4 separate regions of the Homo sapiens genome follow, and all the other regions are linked to region 1. Evidence: promoter capture Hi-C in human tissues and cell types (Jung and others, 2019). All regions are on one chromosome and are shown on one strand. Each heading gives the region's core, a stretch centred on a gene start or on the middle of the fragment in contact. The rest is flanking DNA. Distances are from core to core; before and after follow the strand shown.

Evidence for each region. Contacts are between HindIII fragments. The study calls those that stand out against the background at their distance.
Region 2: a fragment that was not itself captured here is called in contact with the fragment with the promoter of SPIDR in region 1 in 2 of the 25 tissues and cell types used here (heart right ventricle and spleen).
Region 3: a contact is called between a fragment that was not itself captured here and the fragment with the promoter of SPIDR in region 1, in 1 of the 25 tissues and cell types used here (dorsolateral prefrontal cortex).
Region 4: a fragment that was not itself captured here is called in contact with the fragment with the promoter of SPIDR in region 1 in 1 of the 25 tissues and cell types used here (dorsolateral prefrontal cortex).

The regions. Positions count from the first base shown.
Region 1 is chr8:47,258,914-47,263,096 of GRCh38, reverse strand. SPIDR (scaffold protein involved in DNA repair) reads right to left here and starts at 2,159. Exons shown (of 20, transcript NM_001080394.4): 1 at 2,106-2,159. The coding sequence starts at 2,138. RefSeq lists a silencer at 1,896-2,445. The HindIII fragment of the contact is 26,545 bases long and covers 1-4,183 here.
Region 2 is chr8:47,753,147-47,757,329 of GRCh38, reverse strand. No RefSeq gene overlaps it. Among named protein-coding and RNA genes, the nearest start is that of CEBPD, 17 kb to the right of the region's middle. The HindIII fragment of the contact is 4,548 bases long and covers 1-4,183 here.
Region 3 is chr8:47,675,509-47,679,691 of GRCh38, reverse strand. The region is part of intron 11 of SPIDR (scaffold protein involved in DNA repair); the gene reads right to left. Among named protein-coding and RNA genes, the nearest start is that of CEBPD, 61 kb to the left of the region's middle. The HindIII fragment of the contact is 7,312 bases long and covers 1-4,183 here.
Region 4 is chr8:47,640,871-47,645,053 of GRCh38, reverse strand. All of the region lies in intron 10 of SPIDR (scaffold protein involved in DNA repair), which reads right to left. Among named protein-coding and RNA genes, the nearest start is that of CEBPD, 95 kb to the left of the region's middle. The HindIII fragment of the contact is 4,785 bases long and covers 1-4,183 here.

The DNA.
Region 1 (4,183 bases), core at 910-3,409:
TTCCTCATCCATAAAATGAGACTAATGGTATCTACCTCACAGGACTGTTAAAATAATTAAATTAGTTAATACATATAAAGCACTAAACACAGGATAAGTTCTGCAGTAAATTATGATGTAGCCAATAAGAAGTAAAATGAGATTTAGATAGAGGACTAACAATATAATCAAAGTAGTGCCTAAGGGAAAGTCACCTCTGAAGATGGAATGGGAGCATGCTAGCCGGCACTACACATCAACACTCCAACCATTAAGTACTTTTGAGACTGACCGAGGGAGACAGAAACAAAAAATAAATTCCTGGGAAATACTGTGGAAGCCAGCCTCCAAGGTGGCCCCTGTGATCCCCACCTCCTGGGGACCCTCTATAGTCTCCTCATACATTGTACCGGGTTGGTCCATGTAATGAATAGACAGGAGATGGGATGTCACTTCTGAGTTTAGGCTATAAAAGACACGGGGACCGATATCTTGTTGCTCTCTCTCTTGCTCTTGGGAAAGCCAGGACCCTGTTGTGAGCTGCCCTATGCAGCTGTCAAGAAACAACCACGTGAGTGAGCTTGGAACTGGATTCTCCAGCTCCAACGACCCTTTATTTGACTGCAGCCTTGTGGGAGATCCTGAACTACAACCACTTAGTTGAGCCGTTCTCAGATTCCTGAGTCTCAGAAACTCTATGATATAATAAACATTTGTTATGAACTGCTTCAGTTTTCAGCAACGTATTACACAATAGACAACTGTACGACTACTAAAAAAAATTGAGTAAAAAAAAAGAGTCTTGAAAAATGACAAGATGAAGAGACCAGAAGTGAACGTCAATTCAAAAATACTAAGATTTCTAAGTCAAGAGAAACTGTTAGGGCCTGGAGGACTAAGGGTGAGATGATGATTATGTGATGCACTAAGTTTGAGCTCTAGGGAAAGATCTAATATAGATCTGAAAGTCATCTATATAGTTAACTTCAATGTATGACATTGTCCAAAGCAAATATGGAACATGTGAAAAAGCACAAGGTCAAAAATTAGAACATGGCACGAACACAGTAAAGAGAAGAAAATGAGCTGTTGCAAGACAGGAAAACAATCATGGATGTTCCAAAAGAAATAAAAGCAGGTGGTGAATGTGTCAAACGCTCCAATGATCAAGTAAACAACTTACACTGGATTTAGCAAATTTATATATTTCCTTGATTTTTTTCACACATTAATGCTTCAGAAATCAGACTGTATCTTATAATCAAGAGGTGCCTGAAATGAATTTCTTTATTCCCTAAAGCCAGTCACAAAACTGATAGTGTGGGCTGATAATCAATGGTATTTGAGAAGCGAGAAAGCATGGTAGTGGTAAAGAAGTTGAACCAGTATATGTGGTCTATTTTTTCCAGGAAGTTTTCAAGTAAAGGCAAGAGTCAAGAAAGGAGGTCCTGTGTTTGCTTTTTAAAAACCGTTTTACTATGAGACAAACGTATTTGAAAGCAAGGAAGTTAGAAGAAACTTTAAAACGATAAAGGACACATGCCATGACAAGCACAATTAGCAGAACAAAAAAGGATGCACTCGCGGATACAGGTGCAATCAAACACCATTCAAGCAACGATTCCTAGGCACCCGCTCCCGTTCTGGAACCCGAGGCAGCGCGGTGCCCACGGATTGGGCAGTCAGCCGCACAGTCCCCTCCGAGTGCGGCAGGAAGAGAGACAGAGTTGACAGTGGATTATCCGCGGAGACGGGTAAAACCACGCCAGGATTCCCTGCGGTTTGGTACATTACACCAGAATCAAAAAGAGACAAGAGTAAGGCCAAGTACCCCCGAGGCGGACATATGCTCCCGCCCGCTGCGTCCCTCGGCGGTCCCACCCCTCGCTTTCCGTACCGCCGCTGAGGGCCCGGCCCGCACGCCTGGACCGGAGCCGGACCTGGGGGCGGTACCCCACTGCGCGGGCTTGCTCCACGCGCGCAGACGGGACCCGCCACCACCTAGCCCTTCACCCCCAACGCCCACCCTCTCTCACCCCAGCACAACGGGGCCAGCCCCGCGCCGGCCCGCCGCTTCCCCGCAACGCGGGAAACGGCGCGGCGCCCACTCCCGCCCCAGAGCCTACCTTAGAGCCCCGAGCGCGGCTGCCGCGGGGCATCTCCGGGAGCGCCGCCTGAGCGCACCGCCTCCTCAGCGCGCCGCCGTCCCACCTCGGCGCGCCGCACCGCGCCCTGCCATTGGCGGGCGCTCGGGCGCAGGGCGGGGCTTCGGCGGGGGGCAGGGCTTCTCCGGCCCCGGCGCTCCAGGGCCTCCCGGATGGCCTAGTCGGGCCCGGAGCCCGGAAGGAGTGCCCCGCGGAGAGTCGAGCTTCCTTCCCCGGGGCTGGGGGTTCCGCGGAGCTCGCTCTGGGCTGTGGCGTTGCTCGCCCGCGAGCTCCTGGGGAGTTCGGGGGAGCTGCTGGGCTGGTGCCTGGAGCGGGGGCCGCCTCCAAGTATTGTCTTTCGAATTAAGTTACTGTCGTCTGTGTTGTCAGGCAACAACTGACCTTAAATAAAAATGAAAACCAGAAGTAGGCTACACATGCAATAGGCTACACATGCAATAATGGATACTTAAGGAATGGGAGTGGCTGCTGGTGACTGGAGCAGAGAGGGTGTGGTTTCCCCATGTTTCGGGGCCGGGGGGAAGGAGTAAAGTCTGTGTTCAGAGCCCAGACGCCATGTCGGTCATCACATCACCGGGAGAACTCGTGGAGCCTGAGGAAAGGCTACGGGGTGCCAGAGTCTGAAGGGGCGGAAGATTGCATTCCTATCACGTTCGCCGTGGCGCACAGGGGCTCCGCTGGGGCCGCCGCTCCCGCAGGAGAAGTGGGCCTGAGACGGTGCGGCGTCGACCATAGCCGGCCCAGCAGAAGCCGGGGAAGGCCACAAGTGTAACTGGGTCCGAGTACTGTGAAGAAGGCGCCTCCCATGGAGAAAGCTACCGGGTAGTTTAACAAGGTGGAAAAGCGTTGGCCTGGGGAGGAGGAAAGGATGCTCAGAAAGTTGCCTCAAAAGGACGCAGAAGTGGAGGTGAATCTTCTGTTTCAGAGGCATTTTTTTGTGCCTCTGTGAGAATGCATTGCTTCCTGGTTGATCCATCTTCAGGTTTTCTCTCCGTCCTAGTCCCTGTTCTGCCACCATTCTGTGTTTGAATCTGGTACCTAAAGCCGCAGATACTTGGTTCATAGTAGATGTCCACTCTGCAGTGGCTGAAAACACGGAAGAAAAACCATCTTTGCCTGGGAAGGACATTATTGCTAGTGCCATTACTGTCAACAGTTGGAACAAGATAAACGGCATGCCCAATCTAGTTGAGGATTTTGGACACCGGGCCTCCCACTGGGACTCCGCCGAGAAACCAGGTCTGCCATTGCCACCTCCGCCGGGCCTTGCTGTCTTAGCACAGTAAGTGCACCCGACCGCGCCCGGAGTCCCCCTTTCACTCCCACAACCAGGCCTGTGGTGAGGCTCCCGCTTGTCATCTCCACCAGGAGGTGCTGTCCTGCCGAAATGTTGGGGTTTTTCTCCAAACTTCCTCCTGTTCAGAATTCGCCATCTCAGTAGTGGCATGGACATCCACCTGGCCACAGCTCACGCAGAAACCTAGGAATTTTTGTGAACACGTTTGTGTGTCTTACTAATGTGTCCACTCTCCACTACCACTGTTTCCCAGGCCACTAGTATCTTTTGCCCAGACTGCTAGTAGCTCTTAACCCATGTCCCCTAATCCACTCTTGCCCCTCACACAGCACACACATACAATCCATTCTCAACACAGACACCACAGTGAGGTTTATGCTGTCTATACTGGCCTTCCCTTTCGGTGGTCAAACGTGCCTAGCTCCTGCAGCCTTGGGGTCTAATAAGCATTTGCTCTTCCTTTTGCCTAAAAGGCTCTGGCCTCCCTCTGCCATGCCATTTCCTATGCGCCTGTCAAACCTGAACCTGGTGGCCAGCTTCCCTAAACTAGCAAGCCTGAACCTCCCTGCTCTTCCATGTCCGCAGGACCTCATGCTCTGTTGAAGATGTTATAACAATTAGAATCTAAATAATTACGAAAGTTATTTGTTTACCATGTGGTTCCACCTCCATGCTGTAAGGTAATACCATTTCTATCTTCTCCGTTTTTGTATCTCTATCAGTTAGCACAGCGTCTTCCATA
Region 2 (4,183 bases), core at 782-3,281, 490 kb before region 1:
AAAATCAACACCCTAACATCATGGTTAAAAGAACTAGAGAAGCAAGAGCAAACAAATTCAAAAGCTAGCAGAAGACAAGAAATAACTAAGATCAGAGCAGAAAAAAAGGAGATAGAGACAGAAAAAAACCCTTCAAAAATTCAATGAATCAGCCGGGCACTGTGGCTGATGCCTGTAATCCCAGCACTTTGGTAGGCCAAAGCGGGCAGATCACCTGAGGTCAGGAATTCGAGACCAGCTTGGCCAACATGGTGAAACCCCATCTCTACTAAAAATACAAAAATTAGCCAGGCATGGTGGTGCACACCTGTAATACCAGCTACCCAGGAGGCTGAGGCAGGAGAATTGCTGGAACCCGGGAGGCAGAGGCTGCAGTGAGCTGAGATCACACCACTGCACTCCAGCCTGGGCGACAGAGCAAGACTCCGTCTAAAAACAAACAAAAAAAAATCAATGAATCCAGGAGCTGGTTTTTTGAAAAGATTAACAAAGTAGATAGACCACTAGCCAATAAAAAATAATAAAGGGAATATCACCACTGACCTTCCAGAAATACAAACTACCATTAGGGAATACTATAAACACCTCTATGCAAATAAACTAGAAAATCTAGAAGAAATGGATAAATTCCTGGACACATACACCTTCCAAAGACTAAACCAGGAAGAAGTCGAATCCCTGAATAGACCAATAACAAGTTCTGAAATTGAGGCAGTAATTAATAGCCTACCAGCCAAAAAAAGTGCAGGACCAGATGGATTGACAGCTGAATTCTACCAGAGGTACAAAGAGAAGCTGGTACCATTCCTTCTGAAACTAATTCAAACAACAGAAAAAGAGAGACTCTTTCCTAACTCATTTTATGAGGCCAGCATCATCCTGATACCAAAACATGGCAGAGACACAACAAAAAAAGAAAATTTCAGGCCAATATCCCTGATGAACATCTATGTGAAAATCCTCAATAAAATACTGGCAAACCGAATCCGGCAGCACATCAAAAAGCTTATCCACCACGATCAAATCTGCTTCATCCCTGGGATGCAAGGCTATTTCAACATACACAAATTAATAAATGTAATCCATCACATAAACAGAACCAATGACACAAAAGCCACATGATTATCTAGATAGATGCAGAAAAGGCCTTTGATGTAATTCAACACCACTTCATGCTAAAAACTCTCACTAAACTAGGTATTGATGGAACGTATCTCAAAATAATAAGAACAATTTATGACAAACCCACAGCCAATATCATACTGAATGGGCAAAAGCTGGAAGCATTCTCATTGAAAACGGGCATAAGACAAGGATGCCTTCTCTCACCACTCCTATTGAACATAGTATTGGAAGTTCTGGCCAGGGCAATCAGGCAAGAGAAAGAAATAAAGGGTATTTAAATAGGAAGAGAGGAATTCAAATTGTCTCTGTTTCCAGATGACATAATTGTATATTTGTAAAATCCCATTGTCTCAGCGCAAAATCTCCTAAAGCTGATAATTTTGCAACTTCAGCAAAGTCTCAGGACACAAAATCAATATGCAAAAATCACAAGCATTCCTATACACCAACAATAAACAAACAGAGATCCAAATCATGAGTGAACTCCCATTCACAATTGCTACAAAGAGAATAAAATCCCTAGGAATACAACTTACAAGGGATGTGAAGGACCTCTTCAAGGAGAACTACAAACCACTGCTCAAGGAAATAAGACAGGACACAAATGGAAAAACATTCCATGTTCATGCATAGGAAGAATCAATATTGTGAAAATGGCCATACCGCCCAAAGTAATTAATAGATTCAGTGCCATCCCCATCAAGCTACCAGTCACTTTCTTCACAGAATTAAAAAATTAGTTTAAATTTCATATGGAACCAAAAAAGAGCCCACATAGCCAAGACAATCCTAAGCAAAAAGAAGAAAGCTGGAGGCATCATGCCACCTGACTTCAAACTATACTACAAGGCTATAGTAACCAAATCAGCATGGTGCTGGTACCAAAACAGATATATAGACAAATGGAATAGAACAGAGGCCATAGAAATAATGCCACACATCTACAACCATCTGATCTTTGACAAACCTGCCAGAAACAAGCAATGGGGAAATGATTCCCTATTTAATAAATGGTGTTAGGAAAACTGGCTAGCCATATGCAGAAAACTGAAACTGGACCCCTTCCTTACACCTTATACAAAAATTAACTCAAGATGGATTAAAGACTTAAACATAAGACCTAAAACCATAAAAATCCTAGGCTGGGCACAGTGGCTCATGCCTGTAATCCCAGCACTTTGGGAGCCCGAGGCAGGCTGATCACGAGATCAGGAGATTGAGACATCCTGGCTAACATAGTGAAACCCCATCTCTACTAAATATTCAAAAAAAATCCAGGCATGGTGGCACGGGCCTGTAGTCCCAACTACTCTGGAGGCTGAGGCAGGAGAATCACTTGAACCCGGGAGGCGGAGGTTGCAATGAGCCAAGATTGCGCCACTGCACTCCAGCCTGGGTGACAGGGTAAGACTCTGTCTCAAAAAAGCAAAACAAAACAAACAAACAAAAAACAAACCCTAGAAGAAAACCTAGGCAATACCATTCAGGACGTAGGCATGGGCAAATGACTTCATGACTAAAACACTAAAAGCAATGGGAAGAAAAGCCAAAATTAACAAATGGGATCTAATTAAACTAAAGAGCTTCTGCACAGCAAAAGAAACTATCATCAGAGTGAACAGGCAACCTACAGAATGGGAGAACATTTTTGCAATCTACTCATCTGACAAAGGGCTAATATCCAGAATCTACAAAGAACTTAAACAACTTTACAAGAAAAAAAAAACAACCCCATCAAAAAGTGGGTGAAGGATATGAACAGACACTTCTCAAAAGAAGACATTTATGTGGCCAACATACATATGAAAAAAAGCTCATCATCACCGGTCATAGGTGTATGTGTCCAGGAATTTATCCATTTCCTCTAGATTTTCTAGTTTATTTGTGTAGAGGTGTTTATAATATTCTCTGATGGTAATTTGTATTTCTGTGGGATTGGTGGTGATACCCCTTTTATCATTTTTGATTGCATCTGTTTGATTCTTCTCTCTTTTCTTCTTTATTAGACTTGCTAGTGGTCTATTTGTTAATCCAATTTGCCAGTCTGTGTCTTTTAATTGGGGCATTTAGCCAATTTACATTTAAGGTTAATGTTGTTATATGTGAATTTGATCTTGTCATTTTGATGTTCACTGGTTATTTTGCCCACTAATTGATGCAGTTTCTTCATAGCACTGATGGTCTTTACAATTTGGCATGTTTTTGGAGTGGCTATTACCAGTTGTTTATTTCCATGTTTACTGCTTCCTTCAGGAGCTCTTGTAGGGCAGGACTGGTGGTTACAAAATCTCTCAGCATTTGCTTGTCTGTAAAGGATTTTATTTCTCCTTCACTTATGAAGCTTAGTTTGGCTGGATGTGAAATTCTGGGTTGAAAATTCTTTTCTTGAAGAATGATGAAAATTTGCCTCAACTCTCTTCTGGGTTGTAGGGTTTCTGCAGAGAGATCCACTGTTAGTCTGATGGGATTCCCTTTATGGGTAACCTGACCTTTCTCTCTGGCTGCCCTTAACACTTTTTCCTTCATTTCAATCTTGGTGAATGTGACAATTATGTGTCTTGGGGTTGCTCTTCTTGAGGAGTATCTTTGCAGTCTTCTCTGTATTTCCTGAATTTGAATGTTGGCCTGTCCTGCTAGGTTGGGGAAGTTCTCCTGGATAATATCCTGAAGAGTGTTTTCCAACTTGGTTCCATTCTCCCCATCACTTTCAGGTACACCAATCAAACGTAGGTTTCACCTTTTCACATAGGCCCATATTTCTTGGAGACTTTGTTCATTTCTTTTTACTCTTCTTTCTCTAACCTTGTTTTCTAGCTTTATTTCATTACTTTGATCTTCAATCACTGATACCATTTCTTCCACTTCATTGAATCAGCTATTGAAGCTTGTATGTGCATCACATAGTTCTCATGCCATGGTTTTCAGCTCCATCAGGTCATTTGAGGTCTTCTCTACACTGTTTATTCTAGTTAGCCATTCATCTAATCTTTTTTCAAGGTTTTTAGTTTCCTTGCGATGGGTTCAAACATCCTCCTTTAGCTCAGAGAAGTTTGTTATT
Region 3 (4,183 bases), core at 492-2,991, 420 kb before region 1:
TCCATTAGACTTGGAGCCCAGTGGCGCAGCACATGGCACAGGCCAGCACTGGAGGGGATGGAGGCAGGCGGGCACATGGCACAGGCCAGCACTGGAGGGGATGGAGGCAGGCGGGCACATGGCACAGGCCAGCACTGGAGGGGATGGGGGAAGTGGGCACCTGGCACAGGCCAGCACTGGAAGGGGTGGGGGGAGGTAGGCACCTGACACAGGCCAGCACAGGAGCGGATGGGGGCAGGTGGGCACCTGGCACAGGCCAGCACTGGAGGGGGCGGGGGAAGGTGGGGACCTGGCACAGGCCAGCACTGGAGGGGATGGGGAAGGCAGGCACGTGCCATGGGCCAGCACTGGAGAGCAGCCCTTGTATGATGCATCTATGATGCACTGGAGGGCTCCTCATATGAATGGCATGATGTTCTCATATTATTCATCAAAAAAGGGGCACACTCAAACCTATACCAGTGACACTGCTCACTGACATTAAAACATGCGTCTGTGTTGGGCCACAGGCTAGCAGACATCCCACACAGCCCTAGGCACAGGCACCAGAGTGAGCTGCAAGGTTACCTCCATGGTGCCAGAGGGCACCCTGGTGGTGGTTGCAGCAGGAGGCAAGGGAGGCAGTGCTGGGCCCTTAATGAGGGTGCAGCATGAGACTGGCCTGTGAGGGAAAAGGGGGTTAAATAAAGCCTGGGAAACTAGTGCAGAGGCTAGCAGGGCAGTGGGCTGGGAATCCCACTGGGGGCTACAAAGGAACTTTCTATCCTGACTCAGATGGTTATTTTTCTGAGCATGTTGACTGAGCTTGGCTTCTGATATAAAGCTTATCACCACTTAATCTGCTGCCGTAAAAATCAAATTTGGTGTTTAGACAATAGCTTCTCAATTGGCTCATTCTCTGAAATGCACTTCCTCCCCTCACCTTTTCATGGAAACTGACCAGGGCAGTGGTCCTCGCCTTGCCTCACTCCCCAGGGGATGAAATGGCTGTGTGGGCCTGGGAGCTTGTTCTCCCTTCCATTTTAGCCCTTAGCCCATGCCTTTCCTGTTCTCTCCAGAGCTCCTACATCTTACCCCACCCTCTGCACCCCCTCCAAAGTGGGTGCTCTGAGCCTCCGCTCTCTGTGTGGGTGCTTGCTAGGTGGTGCTGCATCACCAGCTATCCTTCTGAGTCTCCCCTTGGCTTCCATGCTGCTCTGAGTGTGGAGGAAGTGAGCTGTTTTGTGCTCCTGGCATGTGCCACAGCTCCTGAGAGCTCCCTATGTACCACTTCTCTGTTCCCCTTCCTTCAGCTGTGGGAAAAGTTTCCAGCCTTGTGGCCCTATCCCAATCTCTCCCTCAATTTCCCATCTATTGCAGGTACAGGAGTAGACAGTCTTACTCCATTTTTGTGTTTATGACCTCTTCTCTTCTTCACTCAAAAACTCATATCGACCCTCATTTCTCTGGAACCAATGCAAAATCCCTAATAATAGGATTTAGGCTTTATCTAGCAGACTTTATACCTCAGTATATTCTGGTTTGTGATAAATCCCCCAAATCTGGCACACAGCTCAATGCCATGGCAACTAGCTGGGAGCATAGTACAAACAGGGACTAAATAATATTTACTGAATAAGTGAGAGAATTAACTTTTTCTTTTTTTTTTTTTTTGAGGTGGAGGTCTCACTATGTTGCCCTGGCTGGTCTCGAACTCCTGAGCTCAAGCGATCTGCCCGTCTTGGCATCCCAAAGTGCTAGGTTACAGGCAAGAGCCACTGCACCCAGTCATAATCTCTCTTGAATAAACCCTCTTACTTCCCCTTTTGCATCTCTCTCTCTAAATCCTACATTTGTCTCCACAGATAACATCTCACCAATTTAGAGACACTTTTCTTTCTGCTAGATCAAGATGTTTAAAGCATTTGTTCTCACTTCTTTCATGAAACCTTCTGAGATCAGTCAGCTAAGATCTAGTTAATTGAATCATCAACTACTCTAATACTTCTGCCTGTCCTGTTTTGGGTTGAAAGGGACACAATTCAAGGTCAAAGACCATGTCAGTTGCTTCCTTTGTCATTCTCAACACTCAGACAGCACCCTCTGTAGACACTGAGTATTGACAAAATGCTCTTCAGTAAGAGCTTCTCCAGTACACTACTGTAAAACGGCCCTTCAAGAGGCCTACAGAAAATAGTACCTATAAATTAATAATATATTTTGGACTCTGTGGTTGTTTTAACAAGTTGGGAAATAAATACCAGATTTTTGAACTGAAAGAGGTCTCCTTTCCCCACTCCCCACAAAATAATTTGTTAGCTATAGTTTCTATACCTATGATAGGTTAACATATTTCAGGGAATTTCTTTTCTTTTTCTCAGTATTGCCCTGGCAAATACAAATAAAAGCATATAATAAACAGCAACAAAAAATGAAGTTCACACACAGAATTATGACACCAAAGCCACGTGACTTCTCAGCTTGTTTGGCCTACTAAAGTGCCGCACAGGCCACTTGGGAGGACAGAGGTCGGTGGTCGGGGGCAGGTTGGGGGGTGGCCCTTAGTAGAGAGTCATTGAGGAATAGCAGGTGTGCCCCGGAGAGGAAGGAAGCACAGGCCATGCTGCATGTTCTGCGGTGAGCATACATCAGACTGGCACTGTTGTGAAAACTGTACAGTTTTTAAACCGAAGCTCAGGCTGTTTTTCTGACTCTTCTTCCTCTGACCAGTCGACATAGACACTCAAATCCAAAAAATTAGTCCGTCAGAGAAACAAAAGCTATGATGCTGTTTTTCTGCGAGCCTCTGGACCAAAGCAGGTGGCTGGAGCGGTGCTCCCTGCATAGGCATCTGGCAGCATGTGTGCCTGCCTGGTGGCTCTGTGATCACAAGTTCCCTGCAACACAGCCATTCAACAGCGGGTAGGGCTGAGTGATATTTCATCACCAGAACTGTGGATCAGATGAAATTTAGATCTGGTAGGCCAGATCTAAGAGGCTCTGTGACTTAGCCCAAACATACAACTATCTTCCAATTGGGAAAAGGTTATTTTCGGTATTAGATACTGAAATTATAAAATTAATCATTTTAGCTTGAATTTGGGGAAGTATATTTTGTTAAGGTTTATGAGAAGCATATTTTGTTAAAGTTTACGAGAATTGCTATGAAACACAATAATTTGGAAAAAAAAAAAGAGAGAGAATGTTGTGTTTACTGGGCCATGGATGGATGATGTCACTAATAAGCAATTATAACATCCCACATTCCAAAACTATTTAATAATTTGTTTTGAAGAAATATAGCTTCCAAAAGAACAAGAACACAATCTAAACATTTATTTGGATGTTTTGCATGGCAAAATATAATTAAATATATAAAATAATCTCAACCTAAAAAAGCATCAAATATTAGTCACCAACTTTAACAAGGAAGGAGGTTCAAAAGTTTATCAGTAAATGAATTTGTTGGAATACTCAATGCATTTCCCATGGCAAAAACATTTCCCATGTAAATGTTACAGACGGTTAGGCTTCTAGTGCCAACCACAAAAACTAGATTAAATGTTAGGTACATGTATGGCTATAAAGAAGAATGGTGAAAGAACAGGACCTTTAGAGAGACAAAGATTCCCAGGTCCTGTCTGGCTGTGTCCTTCCCCAGCAGTATTTCTGTAAGATGCTACGTCCTGCAGTCTCCAGCCAGAACAGCTGCCTCTGGCCTGGAGCACAGCTGGAACATCCTGTGGCGGGAGCCCCCTCGTGTCCTTGCCAGGCTCAGGTGGGTGGCAGCCGAGTGAAAGAGCCCTCCCCTCTAAACGACCCTGATGGTTACCATAACTACACTTAGTCTTCAGATGCTTGTGAGTCTGAAATGTTTACAATGAATATTCTTTTCTTTTTGAGATAGAGTGTCGCTCTGTCACCCAGGCTGGAGTGCAGTGGTGCAATCTCAGCTCACTGCAACCTCTGCCTCGAGGTTTCAAGCAATTCTCATGCCTCAGCCTAAGTAGCTGGGACTACAGGCATGTGCCACCATGCCCAGCTAATTTTTATTTTTTATTTTTAGTAGAGATAGGGTTTTGACATGTTGGCTAGGCTGGTCTCAAACTCCTGGCCTCAAGTGATCAGCCTGCCTTGGCTTCCCAAAGTGTGAGGAGCCACCGTGCCTGGCCTACAATGAATATTCTAATGAGGACTAAAATGA
Region 4 (4,183 bases), core at 1,076-3,575, 380 kb before region 1:
TAAACTTCTGGCACCTGGCTCTTCTGTGTGCTAATCATCTGTCTCAGCCCCTGGGTACATCTCTACATCCCAGGTACACTGGCCTCTCTTCTGCTCCTAGAACACAGCAAGTCCATCCTTTTCTTTGCAATAGCTGGTGTCTTTGCATGGAAAGTGTGTCTCCTGGAGCTTTTCGTGGCTGACTCCACTTCATCCGTTAGGTTTCACCTTGAAGCTCTCCCTCTTCAGCTTCCCCTCACTGCTCATTCCAAGGTGACCTTGATGCTCCTATCCAGGTTACTCCATATCATGGCACACAGTATTATGTCTCATAATAATTGGGAGTGCTTTTTGAGCACTTAGCATTCACCATGTACTAGGACCTGTTCTAAGTGCTTTTTGAGTATTATCTCATTAATATATCAATCACATAAGGAGATACCATCATAACCTCCATTTTACAAATGAGAAAAGTAAAGTATAAGGTAATTTGTCCAAGGTTACCTGGCTACAAACCAATTGAAAATGATCTTATTTACTTTATTCTGGAGAGCCGGCCCCTTGTCTGTTTTGTTCATTGCTCTATATTCCTAAACCCAACACGAGGAGGTGCTTCATAATTTTGTAATGCCTAGCAAGCACTCAGTAAATGAAGGTAACACGATTACGTCATCATCACAGAATGTGCCACATGAAACAACTTGCGTGATAGTGGGGCACAGCTGTGGGGCACAGCTAAGAAGGAGAGAGACCTGACATCAGCTTCCGTTCAGATTTATGCTGTGCTTGGCTGTCCTACCTAACCCTTCCTGCCAGGTATGCAAGTAAAGGGATGGCTGGGGAGGCAGAAAGTGGAGCCTGCAATCTCCAGGGCCCTTCTTCCTTGATAAACACCACAGGACTGGCTTGGCCATGTGGCTAAACTTGGGTGTGAGGTGGAGTGACTGCTAACGACCAGCCACCAGCACTCCATCTTCACAGCAGCCAGGATAGACTGAGGGTGGAATGCAGAGGTTCCAGGACAGACTGAGGGTACAGCCCGTAAGTTCCAGAAATGTAAACATCACACTCGAAGCCTCTGTTGATACTGTTTAAACAGTGTAGTTAAAAAGCATTTACATGTCACTAACTATATGAATGACCTCAAAAAGGTGTATCTACTTGAACAAAACATAACATAAAAAACCCAATCTCTAGTAATATTCTACAGTCATGATCAAATATAGCTGAATTTCTATTTCATGAGGGCAGGAATGAAAGTCTTTCCATTTTGAATAATACTGTTTATATTAAAGCTTTTGAATACACAGTTTAGGTTTTTCATGGCAAATGCTTTTTTGTGTATATAATATACATAGGAAATATTCCACTAATTATTGAGTTGCAGCTTTCTCTAAAATAGAAGTTGCGGTCAGGCACAATGGCTCACGCCTGTAATCCCAGAACTTTGGGAGGTCAAGGTGGGAGGATCACTTGAGCCTAGGAGTTTGAGAGCAGGCTGGGCAAGATGATGAAACCGTCTCTAGAAAACAACAACAACAACAACAACAACAACAACACTAGCCAGGTGTGGTGATATGTGCCTTAAGTCCCAGCTACTCTGGAGGCTGAGGTGGGAGGATTGTTTGAGCATGGGAGACTAAGGCTGCAGTGAGCTGTGACTGCACCACTGCACTCCAGCCTGGGTAAGAGAGGAAGACTGTCTCAAAACAAACAAATAAAAAATTAAAATAAATAAAATAGAAGTTGCAGTTATAGAAGTATGGCAAATACTACAGAATGCAGACTAGAAGGTAAAGAGTTATACCTATTAGTCATCTGAATATTAAAATTTTCAGACTTTAGATATGGACTGAATTTGACTTACAATACATTCAGTTAAAAAAAAAGCATCCCACAGTTGTGTAAGTATTATTCATGTTTTAAGGCCTTTATAAACCTCAACAGTTATCTAGGTATAAGATGTTAGCTGAGAAGACTAAATATACTAACAATGATTTTCAATGCAGTAGAACAAAGTAGAACCAACTAAAATAATCCAGATTCAATCAATAACAGTCCATATGCTAGAATCCATATGTATGATTAAGATCTTCATAATTTCCCAAATTTGCAAAAATTTGCAATATTTGTACATGTTCCTGCCTTCTATCAAATCCCATTGTTTTTCCATTTATTTATTTATTTAGAGACAGGGTCTCACTCTGCTGCCATCATGGCTCACTGCAGCCTTGAGCTCCTGGCCTCAAACGATCCTCTTGCCTCAGCCTCTCAAGTAGCTAAGACTACAGGCGTGCACCATCATGCCCAGCTAATTTTTAAATTTTTAGTAGAGACGGGGTCTCACTTTGTTGCCCAGGCTGGTCTCAGACTCCTGGCTTCAAGCAATCCTCCTGCCTCCCAAAGTGCCGGGATTAAAGGGATAAATCACCGTGGCCAGTCCACAGTTGCTTTTCAACCTTCCCTAAAGTTTCCTCTTTTATTGGTGAGCTTTCTTGCATACGAAAAACATTAACACTTTAGAAGAGTTTATGACAGGTCCCAAAGAAGTCAGCGGGCTGTCTTGACCTATAAATGCTGAGCCTCAGAGTGCGGGTTCACTCACTGGCCTCACATAGCAAGCACATGTCGAATTCTTTTTCTTTTTTTTTTTTTTTTTGAGACGGAGTCTCGCTCTGTCGCCCAGGCTGGAGTGCAGTGGCACGATCTTGGCTCACAGCAACCTCCACCTCCTGGGTTCACACCATTCACCTGCCTCAGCCTCCCGAGTAGCTGGGACTACAGGCGCCCACCACCACACCCGGCTAACTTTTGTATTTTTAGTTTAGTTTTACCGTGTTAGCCAGGATGGTCTTGATCTCCTTACTTCGTGATCCGCCTGCCTCGGCCTCCCAAAGTGCTGGGATTACAGGTGTCTGCCACTGTGCCCAGCCACATGTCGAATTCTTGACCCATAAAGTCACTGCTCCATACACACAGTGGCCACCTTCACAGCATCCTCAACCAAGGCCTTCAATGCAAATCCTTGAATGCCAGGGCTGCTCCCACACGTGCGCAGAGTCCACTCTGGCTGGAATACCATGCCAGGGCCCGAGGCTCTGCACAGCTCTGCTGCCACTGTGAGTCCCCATTAGGATGTAAGTAGGTGAAGCCTACCTTCCCAGAGTGCTGGCTTTCTTTCCTCTGCCCAGCTGCTGGCAGGTATTCCATCTCAGTTCACCACTGAGCACCCAGAAGTTTAGGGAATTCAATGTCGTCTCAACCAGTTCTTACACATGGTGGGCTGGGTAAGATGCAGCAGTCAGCTGGGCTTCTATGTCAGGCAGTAAGTGGCCAAGTTTCCCTGCTTCAGTTGGTCCATCCCTTGAGTGTTCATCCTCCTCCCTTGAGAGGCTGCAGGGGAGCCCAGCAGCACTCCAGCCACATGTGGCATTCCTTCATGCTTGTGTTAGTACCACTACCTTTTACTTAAATTTCAAGAACTGTTAAAGCTTAGCATTATTACTTTAAGCACTTACTACTCACTATCATTAAACATATATTTGTAATGGCCATACTGTTTTAAAACGTCTCATCTATAGTAGGCACTCTACTAAGTAAATGCATCGAATTGAATCTTGCTTGAGATATAAAGCAGGAATGAATCTATAACAAATCTTACATCACAGAAATAAAAAATATTCAAAAATAACACAAGTTCATGCTTGGATATAGCAAGTAGTACAGAGAAAAGTCAAAATTGATTAGTCTGGCTGGGCACAGTGGCTCACACCTGTATCACCAGTGCTTTGGGAGGCCAAGGCTGGAGTATGGCTTGAGGACAGGGGTTGGAGGGTGCCGTAAGCTATGATCATGTCACTGCACTCCAGTCTGCGTGACAGTGAGATCCTGTCTCTAAATAAAATTAAATTAAAAATTACCTAGTCTTATTTAATTTCTTAGTGTTTGCAATATCTATTTGCATTAACATTTGCTTATTTAAAAACATTTTAAAGTGTACCTCAAATATGCATACCCTTTTTCAGCATCTAATTAAAAATTTCCTTTTAAAAATCACAGCTCAGCCAGGCGCAGTGGCTCCCGCCTGTAATCCTAGCGCTTTGGGAGGCCGAGATGGGCAGATTGCCTCAGCTCAGGAGTTCGAGACCAGCCTGGGCAACACGGTGAAACCCCGTCTCTACCAAAATACAAAAAAAAAAAAAAA